Regions from separate parts of the Homo sapiens genome. Here regions 1, 2 and 3 are each linked to region 4. The links are contacts of gene promoters, found by promoter capture Hi-C in human tissues and cell types (Jung and others, 2019). All regions are on one chromosome and are shown on one strand. Each heading gives the region's core, a stretch centred on a gene start or on the middle of the fragment in contact. The rest is flanking DNA. Distances are from core to core; before and after follow the strand shown.

Region 1 (5,422 bases), core at 1,955-4,454, 1.3 Mb before region 4:
TATATTAATATAAATATAAATATATTTTATATATTAATACATAAATTTTTATATATTTATACTTATATATTTTTGTGTAAAAATAGATTTATACATATATAAAATAAAAATTTTATAGTACAAATGTTTTTATATAAAAATGTTTTTATATAAAAAATTTCCAAGCTAAACATGATATATATATTTATATATGTAATATAATTAAAATTATATATTTAAAATTTTATTTTATAAAATATATACTTTATCAATCTTAAAATACCTATTTTAAGATTTTATATATATAAAATTAAAATTTAAACATATTTAAAATTTTATATGTGTATATAAAATGGTTATCTTCTCATTCAGGTATTCGTATTCTTTCCTCTTCTCTGGTGGATCTGATCTGCTGTCATACACACCTATTACATTCTCAATTTTATTTTTATTCATAAAATTTTAATTTGATTTTCAATTAAAATTCCTGATCTTGTCAACTCTTCACCATTACTGAACATATTAATCACCATTATGTTTAAAATATATATTTGTTGGCTCAATAATTTAGTCATCCATGAATTTGTTTCTATTGTCTTTCTTTCTGTCCTTATAATTTTTGGGTGAATTATCAGACATTGTATACGAAACACTGTAGAAGTTCTGAATGATAATATTCCTCCTGAGAGAGTTCCTCTCATAGGCAGATAGAGAGGGGGCAGATAATAACAATCCAGTCAGGTATGGAGCTGACTCAAAGTTGAATTGCAGCTATATCTCTATTTATTGCCAGTTTGCTTCTGTTCTTATTCTTTTGCTCTCCAGGAATTCTAGTTGGGTATCTATTCCTTGATGGGTTTTGAACTATAATCTTTATCTCCTCCGATCTGTGATGAGACTTCTGAAAATTTTCTGTGCACTTCAACAGCTTTCTTCTTATCTTCTTTCCCTGTTCATCTTAAGAATTCTGCTAATGTTTGAAGAGAAAACCACCAAGTTTTAGGTTGGCTGCTTAAAGATTCCCTTTTCATCAGGATCTTGGCCCCTAAATCCCTTGCTGTCTTGTCAGACTTGACTCCAATTTTTGTTCTTAGTTATGTGACATTAACCAAAATTATGGAAAATTCTATGCCTTCAAGCCACAGTCATATTCTTAGATTCTTCAATTATTTGCTATGAAGAATCTGCAACATCTTGGACTAGGAACTTGGGCTATCCCTCTCTTCCCATGCAAGGCAGTTTCTTCACTCCTACCCTGGGTACATCTCTAGGCATCTGGTGACTGCTCCCAGGACCCCCATCAAAGCTGGTGCTTTGGGTCTCTGCACATTCAAGCCAGGGAGGGTCCATGACCAATAATTTTCAAAATGTAGCTTCCAGAGTCATAAAAAATGCAGATGCTCACTGTGTGGTGGACGGAGGCAGATAGGCTCTAGGCCGGGCACCCCTGCTAAACCCCAAACTGTAACTGGGTAGAATTCATTCCTAAAAGTCTTGCGTATGCTATACTTGGTGCTCTTTGTTATTCATATTGGCCTCTGCCCTTTAGCAGGTATATTCCTTCAGATACACATTTTGTTTCTCTGAAAACTGGATCCTCTTAGCTTTTTTTTTTTCTTTTAATTTTGGTTAGTTCAATGAGGTTCAGGTAATATTCTCAGGTTGGAAGCAGTGTGGCAGAACAGCCCACTTCCAGTGTTCGTTCTTACCGGTCAATGTCTCTGCATTCAGTAATTCAACTATCAATTGCGGCTATTTAAATACATTGCTTTTTAATGTATTTAAATAGCCGCAATTGATAGTTGAATTACTGAATGCAGAGACAGATTTAATGGGTGCAGCACACCAACATGGCACATGTATACATAGGTAACAAACCTGACCTGGACGTTGTGCACATGTACCCTAAAACTTACAGTATAATAAAAAATAAATAAATAAATACATTGCAATTTACAGGTGAAAATACTTAAGGGTGAGCGGTTAAACAACTTGCTTACCACCACCTAGTGGATAACAATGATTGACAGCTCTTAATGTCAGTTCCGTCAGACAACAAAGCCCACATTTTTAAAATGCTATGCTATGCTCTCTGAATGTTCAAACCAGGGAAGGCCCACGCCCAGTAATTTTCAAAATGTGGTCTCCAGAGTCATAAAAAATGCAAGAGCTTATTGTGTGGTGAACTCAAGCAGATAGGCGCTGGGCCACCCACCCCTGCTAAACACCAAACTGTAAATATATAGTTCACAAGACTACTTCCTATGTGCAAGGGGCTGGTTTAAGCATTTTAACTACACTAACTCATTTCAATCTAACAAGTCTGTTACATAGTTACTATTATTATTGGCTATCAATATTACGCCTATTAAGCTGATGCTTAAAGGTTAGGTAATCCAGCCAAGATCTCGTAAGTGGTGTTGTCAGATTTGAATCCAAGGAGTCCCTTGCTTGTAATGACTATCCTACCAAAAGTTCCTTGCCTAATAAAATGTTTGAATATTACTGATCCAGCCCAAGTTTGAAGGACAGGGCCCAAAGATGCGAAAGTATTTTCCTAATATAACACACTCAGCTAAATAATAGAACAGGCTCTTGCAACTCTCTGTGGTCCCAGGACACTGAGGAGGGGCTCCTTCTCATGGCTTCATTTCAGCTCCACTGTGCGTTTCCCTTCTCTGCCTGGAGTCTCCAGAGGAGCCTGGGATTTGGCAAGAAGGCGGGAGGGAGGAAAGCCTCACTGGACCAGGAACGAAGAGGGTGTCTGGCAACAATAGGACGGAATTTGAAAACCTCTAACCTTGAGTTTAGAGCGATGCTAGCTAGTGCCAGGGCTAGTGAGGTGCCCATTCCGCCAAGGCGCGGGACAGCGAGGACAACCACGCCTTGCCAACCAAAGGCGACCTGACAGCGTTTCCTCGGGGTCGTCGCGGTGGTGAGGGTCACAGAATTCTCCGAAGCCAGTAGCTCCGTTTCCAGCCACGCCCCCTTTCCCAGGGCCCTAAAAGCTTCGGGAGTTCTCCTATTCCATTAATGCTGGTGCGTCCTCGCCTTATCCCCCGAGCGCCCGCAGCTCCCGCCCGCGCAGGAATGCCAGCGGCCAAAGGTCGGGAGGCGCGGGATACTTCTGGCCAATCAGGAGTCACGTTTTCCCGCGCTCTCTCTTCCCGCCCCGCCCCTCCCGTATCCATGGAAACACTGCGAGTGTCTACTCCAAGACCTGGGACTTCCGTTTCGGTCCAGCCGGGCTGCGGCCATTGTTTGTGTGGACTGAGTGTTTTGGCCATCCCGGTCCACTCTCACAGGCTCCGTTAAGTGACATGAACTCTCAGGAGGACTGAGCCAGAAGCGGACAGGGCAAGACGAGCTGTGCTTGAAGGAAGAGGGGCAGAAAATCGAGGGTCAGGGACTGAGAAGCTACTCCGGTTTAGAAACCCCAGAGACACCCGTGTAGATGGGTACATCACGGCTTCTCTCCCACGTTAAGACTTAATAAAGGCAAGTAGAGGAGGGCAGAAGCAGCTTGGGCCCCGGGGTATGGGTGCCCGGTGTTCGGTGCCGGGGCAGAGTTCTGGCCGGGGATCTGGATAAGCAACGGAGGCCGCGCGCGTCTTCAGTGCAGGAGCAGGGGACCCCCGGGTCTGTGGCGGAGACCGGGAGATCCCGCTCCTAGAGAACCGTTCGTGTGTCTGGTTCTCTGGTGCTTACACTTGGGCAGCCCGTGACGCGTTGGGGGAGCCCAAACCTGTCCTGCTCTTGGGGCACGCATGAAACGTTTTTTCCCTAGAGAAAGAGGGTTAACTAATTGCTTATTACTTTGCCCAGGAACCTACCTTTGATCAGCAAGGAAGGACTGGGGTGGCAAAGGCTCATGCCCCCATTTTACAGGTAAGGAAACTGAGATCTTGGAGATCTATAAGTTTGGTCCTCTTTAAAGTTCTACAAGTGCTTGATGGCACAGTTGAGACTTTGATCAGGACCTGGGAGCTCCAGTTCTGGGATACTTCTCTAAGACTCCAGGTACTTTTCTGATAGTAAATCCAGTATTCCTGTTTAGCAAGTAGGGGAGGACAATGGAATGATTTTCTACTTAAACTGAACAAAATAAGAAAAATACCTTGAGAATAGATACTATTTAAGTGTGCTGGTGCTTTCCTATTATTGTTAGTAGTAATAATAATCTCAATAAATAAGTGAGTTGTATCTTTTGAAGTTTCTAGAGGGTTGGAAATAAATTTCAAGGTGCCAGTGTTCATAGCTCTCCTTTCTGGTCGTTGAAAGGAAACAAGAGCATTCATAGGCTTCTTTTGGACCTCTTGCTAGGAGATGTGTGCGTCATACCCAGTTAGTATATGGGAAATTTAATGAATTTGGGAATTTAAAGCCATACCCAGGTTTTCAGTCTGCCTTCCTCCTCAGCTCAGCCGTCTCAGCACTCTACCCTTCCCCAGAAGAGGAACACAAAGGAGGAAGGAATGTACACTGTTTCCCTCATAGTCTGATCCCAAGTGAGGATGATTGTCTTTTCTCATTTACAAAATGTCCCTGCATTCTCCATGGGTGGTGGAGGTGGCAATGAGGATGGATGGATGACTGGACAGAAAACGTTCCTCGCTTGCCTGTGAAATTTTCGAGCGTGCAGACTTGACCCTGCCCCAACCCAGTGTCTTTTCCCAACATTTACTCATTCATTCATTCAGTCACTCAAGTCTAGTGTATAATTCATGCTGTTCTTGGTGTTCTGAGATAAAGAATTATAAGAATGTCATCGCCAGGCGCGGTGGCTCACGCCTGTAATCCCAGCACTTTGAGAGGCCAAGGTGGGCGGATCACTTGAGGTCAGGAGTTTGAGACCAGCCTGGCCCACATGGTGAAACCTCGTCTTTACTATAAATACAAAAATTAGCCAGGCATTGTGGCAGGCACCTGTAATCCCAGCTACTCAGGAGGCTGAAGCAGGAGAATTGCTTGAACCCGGGAGGCTGAAGTTGCAGTGAGCCAGGATGGCACCACTGCACTCCAACCTGGGCAACAGAGGAAGACTCCCTCTCAAAAAAAAAAAAAAAAAAAAAAAAGTCTTAACATTGGGGGTAATAAACTATATGAGATTAATAATAATTTCTGAAGTTATCGACATTAAACAGTGCCAGAATGAGTGGCACTTAAAACACAGCAACAGAAACTCAGATTTGAACAATTATGAGTAGGAAGATATTCTAAATAGGAAAGCCATCATTTACTCTCAGGTACAATTTGAGGGAACAAATAAGGAAACCAGGCTAGTGACAGGGAAGTGAAACATGAATGTATAAAGCCACATTGTGGAAGGCAATTAATGTTTAAATTTGTTATTTATTCTTGTGCATCTCTTCACATGAACCATATTGACAGCCATTGTTGACCTTTGGGTGTATTTACTTGTAGTCTTTTATTTAATACTTAT
Region 2 (5,415 bases), core at 2,218-4,717, 1.8 Mb before region 4:
GAAGATAGAGGCTTTCTTGCCTAAGCAGGCAAGAAAGAGGTAACCCATTTTTGATCTTCCTAAGCTTGAGCTGTGGCTCTACCCCCTCTCTGTCCCCCTTGTCCCTATTACAAACCTCTTGATTCCTACACAACTCTCTCTCTCTCTCTCACACACACACACGCACAGACACACACAGACACACACACAGAGTTGTCAACCAAGTAGTTCCTTTTGGCAGAGTTCTCTGAACCTTTCGCCAGAAGCAACTTGGAGAAGTTTGCTAAGAAGGCCTCTTGGGATAATCAGTGCAGTCACAGGAGTGGCCCTCCAGGTCAGAGTGAGAGGCCCAGCTGCATGTGATGGCTGCATTTCAACCATGCACACAAGTTACTGTGGAAGTGTAACTTTACCCTGGAGGGCAGGGACAAGAGTATCCCCACTAAACACACCTCACTGGCATCCCTAAGCAGGCAGAGAAATCCTGAGATCTGGATCACCTCCTTCCCTATTCCCAGGAGGAAAGAGACATACCTGAAGCAGAGCCACCTGGGAACACCACAGCGACCATAAGCCTGGGAAGAGGCAATGTAGGATCTAGTCCCCATAGCCTCCCTTGAGCTAACAAATCCCTTCCTGGAGATGCATTAGTGGTTCCTCCACCCACCTACTTCCTAAGAAATGGGAAGTGCAAATCTACGTCTGTAATCTGTGCAATTTGTGGCTGTCCCTGACACTTTACCATGGGTGAGCAGGCTCGTGCACATATTTTGGCCTTAATATGAAAAACAGAAACAAAAAACCTTCAGAACAAGATGAGGTATAAACTGGCAAGACCCCACTACAAAGCTCAAAAGAGAAAGGGAAGTTTGACAAGTTTTCCTTCAACGTTGGCTCCCAGTATTCTTTGTGTATATGTTTTTATTTGGCAACTACCACAACTCAGACAATAATTCAAATGTTTCACATTCATAAACCTGGCTCTTCCTCAAGAAACAGAAGTGACCACTGTGTCAGCGTCCATGACAAAGACAAGACTCCATCCTGGGAGGCTGGAGGCTGAGGAGCCTGGCTGGGCAAAGGTGTGTGGAAGGGAGGGGTGAGGAGGATTGAAGAACTCCAGCCTCAGGGCCACTGAGTCTCCCGACAGCAGTGCAGATTCCAGATAAGATCCTCACTCCTCATCGGACAGCTGTAGCCCTCATCCAGCCATCTGAGTCCCCGATCCTGACTCTACACCGGACCCTGCTTGGATGAGGTCCTCATGGCTGGTTGCCTTCCCTAGCTAGCTGTTCCCTGTACCCCCATCCCCACTCCAACACTATAAGAGGCAACTTCTCATGAACTGGCTGGATGTGCCCTGAAGTCTGGGTAGAGGAGGTGTTTGGGCCTTGGAATACAACTTCCCATGGAATTGATAAATTGATTGGTGGTTACATTCCCAGAAGAAAATTAATACACGTGCCCACATTGAGCATAATAAGTATAAGAGCGCTGATACCCTAAAAGTACTTCATATCTCCCATCAGCCCCACATACAGCTAGGCCACAGGGCAAAAAGGAGGCCTCATGAGCCTTCGGGCCCCCATGGCATTGGCAACTAGCAGACATTTCCCATCTGGGTGCTTGACCTATAAGACTCCAGCCTTAGCTGTTCTGCAGGCTGAATTCACCCCAAACCTGGTCTCATTCCCATTTTTCATTGCCTAATGGAATCTCCATCTCGACCTTCTGGCAGCTCTCCTCTGGCTAAACTCATGTGCTACAGAAGATAGAAGCCCAGGCCATAATGCCAGTAGACCTGGGTTCTACAATCAAGAGCTAAGTGATCTTGGGTAGGTTTCTCTGGGCTTCACCATCCTCTTATGGGTAAACATATAAAGGGCAAGCAAGAAACTACCCGAGGCTCCCTTCTGATTCCAAAAGAATCAACCACTTTCATTTCCCTTCCCCCTTCCACTAAGTTCCTCCATGCTTTCATGCTACTAACAGTTGCCTCATTCTTCTCCCAGCAAACTAACACACGTCAGTATCCAGTTTGACGCTTTTCTCTTTCCCTCAAATACAATCAGTCACCAAATCCTGCCGGATTTCTTGGCATGGTCACTTGCCTCTGCTCCCTTCTCTCTATTCCTACTGCCATTGCCTTGATTTAGGTCCTGAGCTACCTCAGTGGGTTATTCTAACAGCCTGTGCTCATAAGAAGTTCCTCCCTGTCCCTCCAACCTGCCCTTCCCAGCCACAATCATCCTGAACAGTTTTACCACGTCTTTTCCATACTTGAGTATGGAAACTTTAATGTCATCAGAATAAAATTTAAATTATATAGCTCCAACTTTCAAGGCCTTCCATGATCTCTTCCCAGCCTGGGACTCCATCTTCACCTCTCCCAGTGTCCACCCAACCCCCTGACTCTAGCCATATGGGCCCACTCTTCACTGGGCCTGTCCTTCCTCCCAGTCTTTCAGCTTCTGCTCCTCTTCCTTCTCTCGTCTACCATACGAAATAACCAGCCCCTTTCCCTCTTTACTGAGGTAAACATTGCAAAGCCAGCCAGCTTAAGGCCCATATCTACCACAGACTCCTCCTGGACATCTGCTAAGTGTGGGGCCACGCACAAGAGCTGATACAGCCCTAAAGCAGCTCAGAGTTTGGAGGAATATGGACAGAGACATAGACATAAAGTGATGAAATAGCATAGCAGATCTTTGTTTGATGTGATATGTATGTAACAGAAGAGTAAAAACGACTTAGGGGCAAGGGAGCTTTAAGAATTTGATCTATATCCTGAAGGATTAATAATCTTGCAGAATAGAGACAAAAGGGCTTTCCAGGAAGATAAAATAGTGTATGCAAATGCAGATAGGCACAAAAGAATAGAAATTACTCAGCTTCTCAGTTTGGGGAACAGTGGAGAGGCAGCTGGAGAGCTAAAGTAGGGCCCACCACTGTAGAGATTTGAATGCCATACAAGGATGGTGTATTTTATCCTATCAGAGAGACAGTCCTATTCCTTCTGTGTCTAGGCCTCCCATCTACAGGTATGTTAGGGATCATGATTACTATGCAACATAGAACAGGGTGATTAAAAGCATCAAGCACAATGAATGCTCAGCTTTCAGTGTGCATAAATGTGTACATATGAACATGACAGAGAGAGGAAGTGAAAGTAAGAATAACCAGGGAGAACCAAGCCAACGACCTTAAGGCAAACAGAAATCATACATTTGCTGAAGACAAAGCTCGGAGTCAGCAGTCCCCTGGAACTTGAGGCACTAAGGAGATCTGGGCCTAAAGCTAAACAGATTATTCTAGGACAGCCTCTTTTAGAGGCTTATTTACCAGATGAGTGAGAGATAAGAATGAAGCTTGTGAAGATCCACAGTCAAACAAGACTTGGCTTTAAGGGTGTATAAAGGATAAAGCCCACCTTTCCTAGAACTACATAGATTCCATGAAGACAGAGACACATAGGTGCCATCAAGCATTGGAACCAAAAAATGATACTAAGAAACATAAAGTCCAAGGGAGGTGGAGCTCCTCTGAAGAAGAAGGACGCAGGGAAAATAGTGACTCAGGAATAAACAAAGCTGCCAAAAGTTTCAGCCTAGTTGTGCCCACACCAAATGGGGACTGAATGTCACATCTTGAATGGGGATGAACAGGCTGTAGAATGGAACAAGTGTTATCAGTTGTGTTTATATTAGTGCTTCCTTCTTATATTTTGCATTAGGATATCCACCAGAGGATTTCAAACACGACAGCATCATGAACAGATTTGCATTTCAGGAAAAAAAAAAAAAAAATCTTATGGCCAAGTAAAAAACCACTTCTAAACTGAAAAATTCTCCCTGGGGTCTGAAAGGTTGAAGAGATGAGTAACTCCTCTCTTCTCAGGCCCAGTCCCAAGGTGCAAGGCCAGTTGTGCTAGCAGCGTGCGTCGGCAAAACAGCAAAAGCAGGAAAAGAGCCAGCCGGAAAATACCCACCCCAACCGGAAGACACGTACCCCCTGAAAACCAAAAGGGAGGCCGTCTGGGTACCACGTAGCAGCTACCTCAAACTGAGACACTTCTTGTTTACAGGAGACTGTAAAACCCCTGCCCTGTCCTCATTTGGTGCTGATGCCATTTTAGGCCTCAGCCTGCCTGCACCCAGGCGCTCATTAAAACAGCATGTTGCGCCATACCGCCTCGTGTTGTCTGTTGGAGCGCTCTCAGGGTTTGAACCAATACAAGAACTTTTCATCTGGTGCCGAAACCTGGGAGAGGCTCGGGTCTGTGTCCCCCGTGGACCTACCCCTCTATGCTGGAAAGCAGGCCACAGCAGCTGGACAAAGGAAGCTCCTTAGCCTCCAGTCGCCTCTCTGTGCATGCAGATCAGTCACTGATCTCACCTACTGGTAAGCTTCCCCGGGAACCTGGTTAACAGGGAAAAACGTGCTCGGCCTCTTTTGGTTTCTCTGGTCCGAAAATCCAACGTTGGTCCAAAAAGGCTCCAGCGTGTGCCAGGCACTCGCTGATCATCTGGTCTTAGGGGGACACCTCTAAGCCATTTGATCCCGTTCCAGGAATGAAAAAGGCAGTGGTGACGATCGCTCCTTTTATCGTCTCCGTCCGGCTGTCCAGGACTGTCTCCTTTTTCCCTGTTCTCCTGTGCCTACCCTTCATTATGGGAAACTCCCGGCCCTCCATTCTAAAAAACAGCCCTCTAGGCTGCCTCATAAAAAACCTGCAAACCTTAGGCCTCAGGCAAGATATCCGCCCTAAGCGCCTTTTCTTTTTTTGCAATTCAGTCTGGCCACAGTACAAATTAGATAACGGTCCAAATGGCCGGCAAATGAAACATTCGACTTTACAGTTTTAACTGATTTAAGCAAGTATTGCCAACGACCGAAGAAATAGGAAGAAATTCCTTATTTCCAGGCCTTTTGGCACTCAGATCACAACCCGACCTCTGCAATTCTTGCTCACCTGTTCAAATCCTTCTCCTCCATTCTCGCAGCCCTGATCGCCTTTCTCCTCCCGACCATACCTCTTTTTCCCCGTTAGATCCAGCAGACTGCTGTCCATTCCTCCCAGACTCTACCTCTCCCTCTCAACCATCTTCTTTAACCCCGCAAGCCTCCTCTTTATCTTCTCAGCCGCAATCTTCTCAGCTGCCATCTTCCCAGTCGCCATCTTCTCAGCTGCCATCTTCCCAGCCACCATCTTCCCAGTCAGCAGTACCCACTTCTTTTCCTACACTGTCCTCTCCTGAGGACAACTCTAGCACTGCCTGTACTCATTCTCCTTCCTCACTGCCCTCTCCTGAAGCCTGTAAACCCATCCCGCCACCTTACGCCCCTATCTGTCCTCCACTGCTTATCAACTCAAACCCCCTTTCCCCTTCAAACCCTCAGCAGGAACGACTTCTGACTTCTTCCTTCTCTCCCGCC
Region 3 (5,129 bases), core at 1,402-3,901, 1.1 Mb after region 4:
CTGCCTTCTCCCCATCTCTCTCTCACCTTCCTCTCCAACCACATCCAATCAGTCACCAAGTTCTGTTCATTTTATCTACTAGATATCTATTTTGTGAGTCTGATTATCTTTCTCCATCTTTTTTGCCTTTTCTTCATTCCAAGCCAAGACAGTCTTTTGCCTAGATCATCAGAATAACTTGTTCACTGGTCAGACTCACAGAAGAACTTCCCTACCAATCTGTTGTCTATGCTGTGGCCAGTGTGATCTTCCAAACACATATCAGTTCATGGCAATTCTCCATTGCCTTTAGAATGAACAGTTGAATTCCCCATTGCCTGTAGAATGAACACACTCCTGAACCCAACTCATAGGAACTCCATAAGCCATCTCAGTGCAACTCTCCATCTCCATCTCCAACCATTTTACCTCCCTTTTTGCATACATAAGTCCTATTGGACCCGAAATATTTCCACATCTTCAATGTGCCATGCTCTCTCTCACCCTTCAGCCTTCACATATATTTTTCCCCTGGTAAAAACACTCATCCTATTCCCAGTTTTAATTCTTAGCCTTTTCTGTTTAAACACCCTTGCTTAGAAAGACTTTTCTTGACCCCTAATCTTGGCGGGACCTCTTTACCCTTTTTCTCTTTGTTTTACTGATAGCATTTAACGTTGTGATATTATTTTTCATACTTATGAACATATCTTCGTATCTTTGTAGGGAGGGTGGACACTAATGTGTATGTATAAAAGGAAACGTGAACAGAGTCCTCTTCTATCCACTCTTAAGGCAGAAATTATTGGTCTTGTTGATCTGCACTCATACCTCACAACTCTATGACTTCAACTGAGGCATGTTTAATGGGCAGGCCGCTTAAATTATTATTAATATTAATAACATTATGTACCTAGTTGGCGTAATTTCCACAGGCACTTTTCAAGCATTCATTTTTTTTTCTCTTTTTACAGTATTAAGAATAGATCTTATTAAGGTGACCCAAAGTATGACTTTAAAAATAATAGTTTTCCCTCTACTTATATTTCAATATTTTTTGAAGGAAAGAAGGGAGGAAAAATCACTCAATGTAAATGGAATGCTAAAGGTCCAATGGATAACGGAGAGCTTTGGCCAAACATATACTCATGGCTTAGGAGGTCCTAAAAGATATGAACTTGCCTAATTCGACAGCCCCATCTCATGACACCTCAACTCTCCCTCAATACGGCCCTGCATTGGCATCTTTCTAGTTCCTTAAATAAAGTTCTCTATCTGTACACCTTCTTCTAAGCATTTGCTCAAATGCTTGTTTTATCTGGAATGGTCAACCTCTTTGTTTCCCTCCTCTAAAAACTAACATTTATTTAGATTCTGTTTTAGGTGCTATTTCTATAAGAAGGTCTTTCCTGTAAGATGTTTTCTTGTTTCTTTAGTATCCAAATTTCATTTTTAGATGACCAATGCCATTGTTTTTTGTTACGAGATAATGATATGTGTGTCACACACAAATCCCTACAACCTCCCATGAAAAGAAAGAGTGTAATGGTACCTAAAGATAAAAATGATTCCTTGTGTTAATAACCTGTTATAAAGCAAGAAAAAGAAACATGATATGAGAGTTAGAAAATGAAATTAGTCATTATTTGTAGATTAGTGATTGTATATGTAGAAAATCCAAAAGACTGTATTGATAAGTTATTAGAAATGAGTATGTAAAGATTGCTGAATACAAGGTCAACTTACAAAATTCCACTGTATTTCTTTATAAAATTTTTAAGCATTTACAATAACAGAAAAATCAGATGTCTAAGAGTGAATCTAACAAAGAATGTAGAGGAATTTCTGCACAGAAAACCACAAAGCATCCTTAAAAGACACTGAAGAAGACCTAAATAAATGGAAGAAAACACTATTCTTTTTAACTGGAAAACTCGATAATGTGAAGAATCTACTTAGCCCCCAAATTTTTCCATAGAATCAATACATTCCCAATAATATCCTAATTGGTGATTGTGTAAAATTTGGTAAGCTTGATTAAAATATACATAAAAATGTAAATTGCCAAAATTAGCCACAAAACTCTAGAAGAATAGGACAAAGTGAGATTTTATATACTAAATATCAAAAATTTAAAAACTATAGTAATTATGCATATGTGGTATTTGTTCAGGGATAGACAGTTGAGCCAATGAATGGAAATAAAATTTCAGAAGTATGCCCACTCATACACAGCCAGTTGTTAAATGACAAAGGTAATTCTGTGAGGCAATCAGAAAAGGAGAATTTTTTTATTAAATGATACTACAATAACTGAATATCCATATAGAAGAAAATAAAATTTGAACCCTAAATTCACACTACTTATAAGAATTAAATCTTTGTGGTTTTCATATATAAGTACAAAAGGCAAAGCAATTAGCCTTCCTGAAGTAATATAAAAGAATATTTTTATGACCTCAAGTAAAGATTGACTTCTTAATGCAGTTAATTCATCCATGAATATTTATTGAGTGCCTAATATATGACAGGTACTCTTCTAAGTGATGGAAACACTTTAATGAACAGAACAGACAAACTCTCCTGCTTTTGTGGAGCTTACATGCCAGCCAGTATGATTTAGCTTTCCTCTGTAGGTATATCTGTCTAGATGCATGCCAGATAGTTTTTTTTTTCACTTGCAGTTTATAAATTTCATTAGGAATTATCTAGAAATAGATCTTTTATTTTATAAATAAGTGAGCATGGCATATCTCCAAATGCTAGTGAAGATGCAGAGAAACAACCTCTAATGCATTGCAGGCGAGAATGTAAAATGGCACAACTACTCCGGAAAATAGTTTAGTAGTTTTTTTTTATTAAATTTTAAGTTTTGGGATACATGTGCAGAACATGCAGGTTTGTTACATAGGTATACATGTGCCATGGTGGCTTGCTGCATCTATCAACCATTATCCAGATTTTAAGTCCCACATGCATTAGGTATTTGTCCTAATGTTTTCCCTCCCCTTGCCCCTCGCCCACTGACATGCCCGGGTGAATGATGTTCCCCTCCCTGTGTCCATGTGTTCCCATTGATCAACTGCCACTTATGAGTGAGAATATGCAGTGTTTGGTTTTCTGTTCCTATGTTAGTTTGCTGAGAATGATGGATTCCAGCTTCATCCATGTCCCTGCAAAGGACATGAACTCATTCTTTTTTATGGCTGCATAGTATTCCATGGTGTACATGTGCCATATTTTCTTTATCCAGTCTATCATTGATGGGCACTTGGGTTGGTTCCAAGTGTTTGCTATTGTGAACAGCACTGCAATAAACATACATGTGCATGTGTCTTTATAGTAGAATGATTTATAATCCTTTGGGTATATACCCAGTAATGAGATTGCTGGGTCAAATGGTATTTCTGGTTCTAGATCCTTAAGGAATGGCCACACTGTCTTCTACAATGGTTAAACTAATTTACACTCCCATCAACAGTGTAAAAGTGTTCCACATGCTCTCCAGCATCTGTTGTTTCCTGACTTTTTAATGATCACCATTCTAACTGGTGTGAGATGGTATCTCATTGTGGTCTTGATTTGCATTTCTCTAATGACCAGAGATGATGAGCTTTTTTTCATATGTTTATTGGCCACATAAATGCCTTCTTTTGAAAAGTGTCCATTCATATCTTTTGTCCACTTTTTGATGGGGTTGTTTTTTCTTGTAAATTTGTTTAAGTTCCTTGTAGATTCTGGATATTAGACTTTGTCAAATGGATAGATTGTAAAAATTTTCTCTTATTCTGTAGGTTGCCTGTTCACTGTAATGATAGTTTCTTTTGCTGTGCAGAAGCTCTTTAGTTTAATTAGATCCCATTTGTCAATTTTGGCTTTTGTTGCCATTGCCTTTTGTGTTTTAGTCATGAAGTCTTCGCCCATGCCTATGTCTGGAATGGTATTGCCTAGGTTTTCTTCTAGGGTTTTTATGGTTTGGGGTTTTACATTTAAGTCTTTAATCCATCTTGAGTTAATTTTTGTATAAGGTGTAAAGAAGGGGTCCAGTTTCAGTTTTCTGCATATGGCTAGCCAGTTTTCCCAGTACCATTTATTAAATAGGGAATCATTTCCCCATTGCTTGTTTTTGTCAGGTTTGTCAAAGATCAGATGGTTGTAGATGTGTAGTGTTATTTCTATGGCCTCCGTTCTGTTCCTTTGGTCTATATACCTGTTTTGGTACCAGTACCATGCTCTTTTGGTTACTATAGCCTTGTAGTATAGTTTGAAGTCAGGTAGCATGAAGCCTCCAGCTTTATTCTTTTTGCTTAGGATTGCCTTGGCTATACAGGTTCTTTTTTGGCTCCATATGAAATTTAAAGTAGTTTTTCTAGTTCTGTGAAGAAAGTCAAAGTTAGCTTGATGGGAATAGCATTGAATCTATAAATTACTTCGGGCAGTGTGGCCATTTTCACAATATTGATTCTTCCTATCCATGAGCATAGAATTTTTTTCCATTTGTTTGTGTCCTCTCTCATTTCCTTGAGCAGTGGTTTGTAGCTCTCCTTGAAGAGGTCCTTCAGGTTCCTTGTAAGTTGTATTCCTAGGTATTTTATTCTCCTTGTAGCAATTGTGAATGGGAGTTCACTCATGATTTGGCTCTCTGTTTGTCTATTATTGGTGTATAGGAATGCTAGTGATTTTTGCACATTGATTTTGTATTCTGAGACTTTGCTGAAGTTGCTTATCAGCTTAAGGAGTTTTGGGGCTGAGACAATGGGTTTTTTTTTTTTTTCTTTTTTCTTTTTTTCTTTTTCTTTTTTTTTTGGCAGAGCTAGCTGAGGTTTTATTTTGGACCAAAAAAACAAAAACAAAAACAAAAACAGCAATGGAATTGTTTTGTAGCTGGAGGCATGGGCAAAGGGGTTTTCTAAATATACAATCATGTCATCTGCAAACAGAGACAATTCGACTTCTTCTCTTCCTATTTGAATACCTTTTATTTCTTTTTCTTGCCTGATTGCCCCAGCCAGAACTTCCAATACTATGTTGAATATGAGTGGTGAGAGAGGGTATCCTTGTCTTGTGCCAGTTTTCAAAGGGAATGCTTCTAACTTTTGCCCATTCCATATGATATTGGCTATGGGTTTGTCATAAATAGCTCTTATTAT
Region 4 (4,673 bases), core at 989-3,488:
TTGTTTTTGTTTTTTTACTATACCTGTATGCTTTTGTTTTGTGAATTTAGTCAAAAATATTTTTCAAAAATTAAAAGTACAGTTTTATTTATTGGGTCCTGTACTAGACTTGACAATGAATAAATACTAGATATGGACCTTGACAAGATGTGCGGTACAGACACATAAGGAGACAGTTACCTGGACCTCTGAAAAGTGAAACAAAGAAAAGGACACATCAGAATATGGGTGACATAGGCATCAAGGTACAAAATGCTCAGCGATAAGATCGAGATAAGACTCAGGAGAAATTACCAACTCCTTGCCTTAGCTCTGTGCAAGGGAAAATTGAGTAGGGAGTTGAGGTAACTCATGATGAAAAGGTGTACCTAGAATAATAGCAACTTCTAAAACAGGAGTGGATACCAGAGGTTCATTGGGTGCTACAGAAGTTGAGGGAGGAGACCACCTCTCATATTGTCTTATGCCCAATTTCTGCCTCCAAAGAAAGAAAAAGTAAAAACTAAAAGGCAGAAATGAAATCCACAAGCAGACAGCCCGGGGCCACACCCTGGACCTGGTAGTTAAAGATGGACCCCTGACCTAATTGGTTTGTTATCTATAGATTCCAGACATTGTATAGAAAAGCACTGTGAAAATCCCTACTCTGTTTTGTTCCGATCTAATTACCGGTGTATGCAGCCCCCAGTCACGTACCCCCTGCTTGCTCAATCGATCACGACCCTCTCACGCGGACCCCCTTAGAGTTGTGAGCCCTTAAAAGGGACAGGAATTGCTCACTCGAGGAGCTCGGCTCTTGAGACAGGAGTCTTGCCTATGCCCCTGGCCGAATAAACCCCTTCCTTCTTTACCTCGGTGTCTGAGGAGTTTTTTCTGTGGCTGGTCCTGCTACAAAGGAAGAGTAAGCTGTGGGTACTCAGAAGAACAAGTTCCCTGTGACTGGACCTTCAGAGACAAGAGACCAAAGTGGAGCTGCAGAGATGAGCAGCAGTCTGCCCGTCCTGCGGCCTCTCTCCTCGGACTAACCAGAGGGCTGCTAATTTATCAGGAAAGCTATGGACAGCATCCAAAAAGTTACCAGAAGGCAAGTAAAAGGATAACCTTCAAAAGGGCCTTACTTCTGAAGACTGAGTACCTAAGACTCCTTCGCCTCATACCCAGATCCAGATAAGGGCTCTCATCCCTGCTGAACCTCATCATGAGGTTGCTTTATGAAAAGTGAAAACAAAGCTTCATTGCACAGGCTTCTTCGGGAGAAAGGAGGAAGGAATTTGCTGCCTCTGAATAAAAGAAAATTCTGATCCACGTTGGCAAAATGGAAAAATCAAAATGACAGAATAGGAATGTGGGGTATGATAAGGTTTCTCTTCAAATAGCCTGATCAATCCTTTATTCTTTAATTCACAGTGCCCCTCCCCACTTCACTTTTCTTCTCTTCTCTTTCCTTTCTGCTTTTGCTACATGCCTAGACATGTCACAGTACCAGGCGTTATCAGTACCAACTCACATTCCTTTCCTTATTTTGGAAGAAGATTAGTTATCTAGCTCATCACACACACCCCTTCCCCATCTCCCCTCTCTCCCTCACGTGCCCACCTTATCTAAAGAAAGTTAAAATGTTTAGCCAACTGAGTCTAGTTTAGATTGTGTGGCCGACTCCAGCCAATGGGGAAAGGGCAAAGGGGTAGGATTTGCGTCAGGAATAAAAACTTTCTTCCTCCTTTGTTCTAGTGTGCTCTCATGGCGACTGGCAAAGAAGAAGCACCCCTCTGCACAGAAATAAAATTGCTTTGCTGAGAAATCCTTTGTTTGAGTGCTCGTCTCCCTTAAGATTCTGAGCTTTATTTCCAACAAGGAAGGTGATGGAGGTACCTAGATTGAAGAAATGAATGGTCCCTCTAGGAAACAAGCAAGGCTTTTTGCTTTTGCAAACCTCTCTTCTTTAAAGGTTACCCCTCTCCCAGACTCAGTGCTTTCTTCCTCTGCCATCTCAGCAGACAGTTCACAAGCTGCCTCTTTTTGTTTATGCAGAGCAGCTTCAGAACTACAAATTAAACTCACCCAGACACAATCAATCTATTCTTCTCAAAGCCTCCCATTCTATGCTCCCACAGATTGCTCCACTCACCTTCAGTCCAAAGCAGAGGAGTCTTGAATCAGGGGAGAAGAGTGAAGGCAGGGCAGGAGCCGGTGTAAACCAGATTCACTCACCAAGCCAGAGGGCTGGTCTCCACAAATGAGTTTCCCCACAGGAGCTGAGTGAGAAACGAAAGTTAAATTCTCAGAAGTGAAAGAAAACAAAGGAAGCTGAACAAGAACTTACATAACAATAAACCCTGGGGAAAGTAATGCTACATTATGTTCTAGCATCTGCTGTACTGGCAAGGCACTCAGTCACTACTTCCTTATTCTTACTGTGGTTTACTCAAGCAAGAATATTTGAATAAAAAGAATGTGAATTACAGTTATACAGCTTGCCTGAATACTTAGAATTCCAATGCAGTCCTATAATTATTAGTCGAATTTATCTTATATTTAAGACCTAAGCCAGGAAAATAAAGATCCAGAGACTTGGGACCTAGCTTCTTGAAATGCAGTCTGACGAGGAAGATACTCAGTTATAAAGCTCTACAAATTTGGGCTGACAAGATGAGTATTAGCAGCTGACATTGTGAATGGTAAAAAAATTATTTTTATAAATAAAAGGATCTTTAGTGTGAGCCCATTGAAAAAAATGTTCTCAAAATGTCATTAAATCTTAAGAGTCCATCAATTAATTATCACTTCCTGCTCCTAATCCAGACAGACCAGATGAGGATGGATTCCAGAGAGTAATAGAGGTAAAACTGTGTCAGTGTCATGTTACCCAGCCACTGAGGCAGGTGAGAACATGGAAGTTAACAGATGATGCTGTTTAATTATAATCATTCATTGAGTTACTCTCATGCCTTCATAATTTTTCCACTTTTCCCTGCTTCTCTAAGAAAAGTTTGGTCATTTTTACACAATCAATTAAAAAGCAGCACTGAAACATGTTATACGTCATGCACATACTTCTGTACCCTGTTGTCTATTGTATTCTTGTTTAACTGCATGTGCCAGATAATGCCATCAAAAACTGATGGAGGCCTGTGGTGTCTCATGCCTGTAATCCCAGCACTCTGGGAGGCCCAGGTGGGTGGATCACTTGAGTCCAGGACTTCAACACCAGCCTGGGCAACATGGTGAAATCCCATCTCTAAGAAAAATTAAAAAAAAAAAAATAGCTGGGTGTGGTGATGTGCACCTGTAGTCCCAGCTACTCAGGAAACTGAGATGGGAGGATGGCTTGAGCCCAGGAGGTGGAGGTTGCATTGAGCCAAGATTGCGTCATTGCACCATAGCACTGCAGCCTGGGTGACATAGTAAGACCCTGTCTCTACAAAAAACAAACAAACAAACACCACACAACACATACACACACACACCCAAAAAAAAAGAAAAAAAAAGGCAACTCATGGAGCTTCCATAACATGGATCCCTGACTGACACTATGGAGCATGGCCATCTTCATACTTTAATCAATGATACACATGTAGGATGACTGAGAAATCAATGTTTATTATTTCAATAATAGATATTTTGGTATTATTTGTTGCTCACAGAATAATAAGCTAATCCTGGCTATAAATTCTTTCCTACTCACTTATATCTATGAGGACCTTATTCAATCAGCTGAAAGCCAGAATAGAAGAAAAAACTGACTTCTCCCCGAGAAGAGGGAATATTACCAGCAGGCAAACCTCAGGCGTGAGCTATAACGTTGACTCCTTCTTGGATCCAGAGCCTCTTGGCCTACCTTGCAGACTTTGGATTTGCCAGTCTCCAGAATCACCTGAGACATTTCTCAAGTTTCTTTCCAAATAAATTCATAGTTTAGTGGTTCTATTGCTATGATGAACCTTGACTAAGACAGGCGTGAAATTTTCTTATTTCTTCTTGAAGATAAATAAGCAAGAGATGTAATTTTAGGTATATTCCATGTTTGAATAGAATATCTTGTTGACATTTGTAGGGGAGTGAGCGCTCAGTGAGTGAATGTGTTTTTTCTGGAGTGCACAGAGTGGAGTCCGAGTGTCAACCACAATGGACAAAGTGAATGAACTCATTTATCCAGAGACCTGTTCTCTGTCCATTATTTCTTCCCTTCTCAGCACTTCCATAGATCTCATAGCCATCCTTTTATTCTCGTCTGGCTTTGAACATCTGAAGTGAACTTTCATCCTGGTCTGATTTATCTCATGAAGTATTAATTGCAGCTGAGAGAAAACAGTAGTAATATTAGGTCCTGACAAGATACCAGAAAACGTGGGCCAATAGAAAAACTGAATGCACCACACACAGTTTATCACCAGAGTAGAGCATGTTGGCAGGCTCCATATTCTAACCTATGTTCTAAATTGTAGAAAAAATATATTATTGTTGGAGCTCTGTGTTTTCTCTGTAAACCCTTTTTTTTTTTTTTTTTTTTGAGACGGAGTCTCGCTCTGTCGCCCAGGCCGGACTGCGGACTGCAGTGGTGCGATCTCGGCTCACTGCAAGCTCCGCTTCCCGGGTTCACGCCATTCTCCTGCCTCAGCCTCCCGAGTAGCTGGGACTACAGGCGCCCGCCACCGCGCCTGGCTAATTTTTTG

The links. Contacts are between HindIII fragments. The study calls those that stand out against the background at their distance.
Region 1: the fragment with the promoter of ZNF214 here is called in contact with the fragment with the promoter of TRIM22 in region 4 in 1 of the 25 tissues and cell types used here (small bowel).
Region 2: a fragment that was not itself captured here is called in contact with the fragment with the promoter of TRIM22 in region 4 in 1 of the 25 tissues and cell types used here (pancreas).
Region 3: a fragment that was not itself captured here is called in contact with the fragment with the promoter of TRIM22 in region 4 in 1 of the 25 tissues and cell types used here (small bowel).

What each region holds. Positions count from the first base shown.
Region 1 is chr11:7,018,128-7,023,549 of GRCh38, reverse strand. It overlaps ZNF214 (zinc finger protein 214), which reads left to right and starts at 3,204. Exons shown (of 3, transcript NM_013249.4): 1 at 3,204-3,477. NLRP14 (NLR family pyrin domain containing 14) reads right to left here and starts at 3,071. Exons shown (of 12, transcript NM_176822.4): 1 at 2,780-3,071. The HindIII fragment of the contact is 7,176 bases long and covers 1,413-5,422 here.
Region 2 is chr11:7,518,877-7,524,291 of GRCh38, reverse strand. The region is part of intron 1 of PPFIBP2 (PPFIB scaffold protein 2); the gene reads right to left. All of the region lies in intron 1 of LOC124902806 (leucine-rich repeat extensin-like protein 5), which reads left to right. Among named protein-coding and RNA genes, the nearest start is that of PPFIBP2, 7.6 kb to the right of the region's middle. RefSeq lists a silencer at 2,508-2,708 and enhancers at 2,786-2,965, 3,036-3,085, 3,826-3,875, 3,906-4,015, 4,096-4,225. The HindIII fragment of the contact is 3,522 bases long and covers 1,707-5,228 here.
Region 3 is chr11:4,630,828-4,635,956 of GRCh38, reverse strand. No RefSeq gene overlaps it. Among named protein-coding and RNA genes, the nearest start is that of OR51D1, 4.1 kb to the left of the region's middle. The HindIII fragment of the contact is 5,020 bases long and covers 142-5,129 here.
Region 4 is chr11:5,687,355-5,692,027 of GRCh38, reverse strand. TRIM22 (tripartite motif containing 22) reads right to left here and starts at 2,238. Exons shown (of 8, transcript NM_006074.5): 1 at 2,129-2,238. LOC124902620 (a long non-coding RNA gene) reads left to right here. Exons shown (of 2, transcript XR_007062561.1): 1 at 1-1,350; 2 at 1,732-1,801. RefSeq lists enhancers at 1,419-1,518, 934-2,133, 2,105-2,444, 1,566-2,558. The HindIII fragment of the contact is 9,408 bases long and covers 12-4,673 here.